Regions from separate parts of the Homo sapiens genome. Here region 1 is linked to region 2. Evidence: promoter capture Hi-C in 16 types of primary human blood cells and fetal thymus (Javierre and others, 2016). All regions are on one chromosome and are shown on one strand. The core of a region is centred on a gene start or on the middle of the fragment in contact, and the rest is flanking DNA. Distances in the headings are between cores, read along the strand shown.

The links. The method cuts DNA at HindIII sites, captures the fragments that hold promoters and counts their contacts. A CHiCAGO score of 5 or more calls a contact.
Region 1: a contact is called between a fragment that was not itself captured here and the fragment with the promoter of SEPTIN12 in region 2, in 1 of 17 cell types (erythroblasts). The highest score is 5.4, in erythroblasts.

The regions. Positions count from the first base shown.
Region 1 is chr16:4,832,929-4,835,914 of GRCh38, reverse strand. All of the region lies in intron 3 of GLYR1 (glyoxylate reductase 1 homolog), which reads left to right. Among named protein-coding and RNA genes, the nearest start is that of GLYR1, 13 kb to the left of the region's middle. The HindIII fragment of the contact is 1,030 bases long and covers 887-1,916 here.
Region 2 is chr16:4,786,987-4,789,705 of GRCh38, reverse strand. SEPTIN12 (septin 12) reads left to right here and starts at 1,361. Exons shown (of 10, transcript NM_144605.5): 1 at 1,361-1,426; 2 at 2,039-2,226. The coding sequence starts at 2,061. It also overlaps a transcript of SMIM22 not described here. The HindIII fragment of the contact is 19,587 bases long and covers 474-2,719 here.

The DNA.
Region 1 (2,986 bases), core at 152-2,651, 46 kb before region 2:
AAAGTGATTTAAGTTTGGTTTGCTTTCAAGAGGTAATCCCCATAGAGCTCTGGTAAGCTGGGTTTTTTTGTTGTTACTGTTTTTGAGGTGGAGTCTCACTCTGTTGCCCAGGCTGGAGTGCAGTGGCACAATACTGGCTCACTGCAACCTCCGCCTCCTGGGTTCAAGTGTTTCTCCTGTCTCAGCCTTCCGAGTAGCTGGGATTACAGCTGCGTGCCACTACACCCAGCTAATTTTTATATTTTCAGTAGAGACGAGATTTCACCATGTTGGCCAGGCTGGTCTCAAACTCCTAACCTCAGGTGATCTGCCTGCCTCGGCCTCCCAAAGTGCTAGGATTACAGGTGTGAGCCACCGTGCCCAGCCAAGCTGGTTTTTTATGGCTGTTTTTTGATGTAACAGGATGCTTCTCCAGCAATAAGTTGATTCCTTAAATAGATTAACATTTCTTGGATTTACCATCCTATTCATACTGTCAGTTCATTTAGCCATTTTAATGTTTCGAAGATGGTTGTAAAGAGGAAAATTTTAGTATCTCAAATGCTTTAAAGTGAGTGGAATTTTGACTGTACAGTTCCTTCTAGCAGAAATCAGTAAACCTTGTAAGATGCTTCAACAAAAAATGGGGTTGATTCCTTGGCACTTCACAGACATCCTCACCTTTCTGTTCCCTCAGAATCGGGTTCCTGTGAGGCTGGGTAGTGGGAGGCAGGGATGGAGGTAGCAGGATGGCGTGGGTGGGATTAGCAAGTCTCGGAGTCTGTTGTCCCATCTCAAGGGGTTCCATAAAAATCACCTTTTTGGTCCTATATTGGGAACTTGTGTGGTTCTCAGCTTCTGACCAGAAGCTCCTAGGAAGAACTGGCTGGTCACGACTCCTTAAGCTTCATCCTTGATACTGGTTGTGTCATCTCAGACCCACGGGTTAGTATGGTAGCTTCACTGGCTTTTGGGGCTGGGTCTGACTTTGCATCTGATTGCTCTGGCCTGTCATTAGCATCCCTGTAAGGAGAGGGAACGGAGTCAGTTCAGGGATATTCTTGCCAGAAAATCTGGGGTCGAAATCTCCTTCCACTTTTCCTCCCAGCAGATTGGACTCATTGGCGCTCTCATGTTGAATTTCAAACTTTAAGATGAGTTGGTCACTGGAAAGGAGTTTGCTGGCTCACACCTGTAATCCCAGCACTTTGGGAGGCCAAGGCAGGTGGATCACTGGAGGCCAGAAGTTCAAGACCAGCCTGGCCAACACAGGGAAACCCCGTCTCTACTAGAAACATAAAAATTAGCTGGGTGTGGTGGTGCATACCTGTAGTCCCAGCAACTCGGGAGATAGAGGCAGAATTGCTTGAACCTGGGAGGTGGAGGCGGAGGTCGCAGTTAGCTAAGATCGTGCCACTGCACTTCATCCTAGGTGACAAAATGAGACTCTGTCTCAAAAAGGAAAAAAAAAAGGCCAGGTGTGGTGGCTCACGCCTGTAATCCCAGCACTTGGGAGGCTGAGGCAGGAGAATCACTTGAACCTAGGAGGCGAGGTTGCCGTGAGCCAACATCGCCCCATTGCACTCCAGCCTGGGCAACAAGAGTGAAACTCCGTCTCAAAAAAAAAAAAAAAAAAAAAAGGAATTTGCCTAACTCCTCTAGTTGGAGCTGTGCCAGGGAGACCAGCTTCTGTATCTCCATTCATCATCTCACTTAGCCATGGTGGCATGCCTGATAGTGGTTCGCTGCCTGACATCTGCAGGCCGATGATCCCAGGTCTGTGTTTTTGCACAGACCCCATTATCACAACTACCAGCAGCACACTCAAAGTCCAGGTAGCTGGTGGAGGGTTAGTAACATTATTTTTATGTGCAAAGGTTAACACTTGCTGTTAGTGAATATTCTCTAGCTTTCTATGAAGAAAACAACCTGAAGCTTGTGAGATAGCTGGGTTTCTGTATCCTTAACCTGACCTACTTTTTCTGAAGGTTATGCTGTGAAACCTGTATCACAGGCTAAAACATGTAAACTAACTGATACCTTGTAAAGCCTATAAAATTATTTTGTGCTTGGATTCTATAAGCTGCATGCCATTCAGGGAAGCCATAGAAAGCCAGCTGCAGCAGATTTGTTCAGGTTAGTGTGACAGATCAGAAACCCCAGAATTGACAGCTGACTACTTTCACTTTCATGTGTTACACATTGATGGTTGAAATTAAAAATTACATATCGGAGGTGTATGTTCTTCTACCTTTAATCTCAAGCATCTTGTTTCTATTTTTTTTTTTTTTTGAGACATCATAAAACAGCATGCCATCTTGTTTTTAAATGCCTCCTTTTGTAACTGCTGCCCTTATTCCAAACCATGTGTTCCGTGTTTTGTGTGGTTTAGTAGCCATGGTTACCATCATTTATGAACAAATATAGGCTCAGTGGCTGTGAATATCCATAGGAACCACAAATTTTAGAAGATGTTGCATTTCTTCAGCTCTGTAACATCCCTGACTCTCTGTGGATCAACAGATCATAAATCTGGTTCCCATTGTTGACAGGCAGCAGGCATTTTCCTGCATAGTAATGCTGCTATCATCTATCACATTTCCAGGTACCCTGATTCCCAGGGATCTGTGTGTGGCCATTTGTGCTGCCTGGTGAGAATGGGAAAGGGTCTCCAGATTTCTTTCTGCCCTGAGCAAGTGGCAGCGTATATGTGGTTGGGCATTGGAGGCTGATAGACGATTGTGGAAATAAATAATCTGCAACACAGTGCTTTCACTGGAGGAACTTGATTTGTGGTTGCTGCAGTGGTGGTGATGGTTGTTCTGCTTGACTTGTTTCAAGAAAATATACTTTAGACATAAGACTCTGAGATGGTTGATAGCATGTTTTGAAAGAAATGGCAAGGCCTATTGCAAAGTCCAGTTAAACCAAATGGATATTTACACCGTGCCATAGTGAGGTTGTTGATACTTTAGGGCATATGCTATATGGTTCACACCCTTTTTGT
Region 2 (2,719 bases), core at 112-2,611:
GAGAGGATCACTAGAACCCAGGAGTTTGAGACCAGCATGGGCAACATAGTGAGACCGTGTCTCAAAAAAATTTTAAAAAGGGCTGGGCGCAGGGGCTAACGCCTGTAATCCCAGCACTTTGGGAGGCCGAGGAGGGCAGATCACGAGATCAGGAGATCGAGACCATCCTGGCTAACACAGGGAAAACCAGTCTCTACTAAAAATAGGAAAAAATTAGCCGGGCGTGGTGGCAGGCGCCTGTAGTCCCAGCTACTCGGGAGGCTGAGGCAGGAGAGCGGCGTGAACCCGGGAGGCAGAGCTTACAGTGAGCCGAGATCATGCCACTAAACTCCAGCCTGGGTGACAGAGCGAGACTCCGTCTCAAAAAAAAAAAGAAAAAAAGGAAAAAAGAAAAAAAAAGGCCAGGCATGGTGGCTCACTAATCCCAACACTTTGGGAGACCAGGGTTGGTGGATCACTTGAGGTCAGAAGCTTGTGACTAGCCTGACCAATGTGGTGAAACCCCTTCTCTACTAAAAATACAAAATTAGCGTGGTGGTGCACACCGGTAATCCAGCTACTTGGGAGGCTGAGGCAAGAGAATTGCTTGAACCCAGGAGGCGGAGGTTGCAGTGAGCCGAGATCGCGCCACTGCATTCCAGCAAGGGCAACAGAGCGAGGCTGTCTCAAAAACAAACAACAAAAAAAGAAACAGCTTATCAGAGAGACAGTAAGGCAGGGGTGAGGACCACAGTCTGGAAAGCACATGGCCTATTTAAAGAGGGCATCTCAAGTCAGGGTGATAACCTCTAAGATACACCGGAAATCTAGATGTTTCTGTAAACCAGAAAAAGGCAGTAGAGGGTGAGCACACAGACTCAGAGCGGCAGAGACTCTGCCACCTCCTCACCTGACCCTCTCTTATCTATCAGCTTGGGGTAGTAACAGCACTTACTTCACAGGGCTTGATTATTAAACAAGTTAACATCTTTGGGCTCCTAGAACGATGCCATGTGCAGAGTCAGGACTGGGTAAATATTTGCTAAAGCAATCTCTTCATGTTTTTGACGCTGCAACTTAAAACACATGGCGCCAATCGTGGACACGGATATCCCGCTAGCCAGCTGTGGGGCCTGGGTTTGCTCACCCCAGCAGAGTGGTTGAGGGCGTCAGCTTGGAGGTGGGAGCCCAGCTGACGAGGGGGCCTTGGGCCCCTGGTTCTACTTGGGGATTATTGTATTATTAGGCTGGGGTCATTGTGGGGATTAGAAGGGTAACAGCTCCTGCTCCTGCTGCAGAGAAGCCTCCAGGTGGGGGTCACAGCAAGTGCAGATGGAGCTCAGATTCTTCGGTTAACTGTCACCCTCTCCCCTCCCCCATCACACACACCAGGCCCTGCCAGGACAAGGCAGCTCCTGGAAGCTCCACCAGGACCCACGTCCACCAGGTGTCACAGCAGGCTGCTTCTCTCTCTCTCTGCCCCCCGTGGGCTCTTCGCACCGCTCCCTCCCAGCCATCTTCCCTGCCTGACCTTGGTCTCTCTCTCTCTGTCTCCGTCACCTTCATGCCTGTGCCGTCTTTCTCGCTCTCTATCAACTCTGCTGTGTGTCCCCCTGGGGAAAGTGGGGGCACCTCCTCCTGAGCCCCCTGCCCAAGTTTCCTGCTGGGACGGGAGCCACTTCACCCCATACACACTCCCTGAAGCCCCTCCAGGACTCCAGCCTGGCTGCAAACACCCATCCTGGACTTTGCCTGGCCCTCCAGGCTCTGCTGGGGGAAGCGACCTGAGAGGCCCCTGCCTGGGCTGTAGGTGGGGACAGGGCAGACCCTTGGGCAGCGGAGCCTCTCTGGATGGGTGTTGAGGCACCCTGCAGAAACAGCTCCCCACAGGCACCCTTGCCACACCCCTGGGACTACAGGCACTTAGGGTACACCAGAGGCATGAAGTGTGGAGGGGGTTGGCCAACGGCCAAGCTCAAATAGGGGTTCAGATAGGAGAGGTCAATGTGGGCTCCTCTGAGCCCCAGTGACCCCCTTCTCCCCACCCACCTGGTGACAGGCATCTCGAACCCTTGGCCCCCATGGACCCCCTGAGGCGCTCCCCCTCTCCCTGCCTGTCCTCGCAGCCCTCCAGCCCCAGCACCCCACCCTGCGAGATGCTTGGTCCTGTGGGCATTGAGGCTGTGCTGGACCAGCTGAAGATCAAGGCTATGAAGATGGGGTTTGAGTTCAACATCATGGTGGTGGGTGAGTGAGAGGTAGGGCCCACGGCAGGACAGACCCACAGTGCTACGCGTGCCTGGGCGTGTGGCCTCACCTTTGGCAGCCTGTCGCCCCTCCCCATCTCTTAGGTGGGCCTGATAATAGCACCTCACAGGGATGTTGTCATTGAAAATTTGAGAAATGCTGAGTCATTAAAAGACAAAAATGTGCCTGGAGCGGTGGCTCACACCTATAATCCAGGGTTTTGGGAGACTGAGGTGGGTGGATCACTTGAGCTCAGGAGTTTGAGACTAGCAAAACCTAATGTCTACAAAAAGTACAAAAATGAGGCCGGGCATGGTGGCTCAAGCCTGTAATTCCAGCACTTTGAAAGGCCAAGGCAGGAGGGTCACTTGAGGTCAGGAGTTCGAAAACAGCCTGGCCAACATGGGGAAACTCCGTCTCTACTAAAAATACAAAAATTTGCCAGGCGTGGTGGTGGGCGCCTGTACTTAGGAGCTACTTAGGAGGCTAAGGC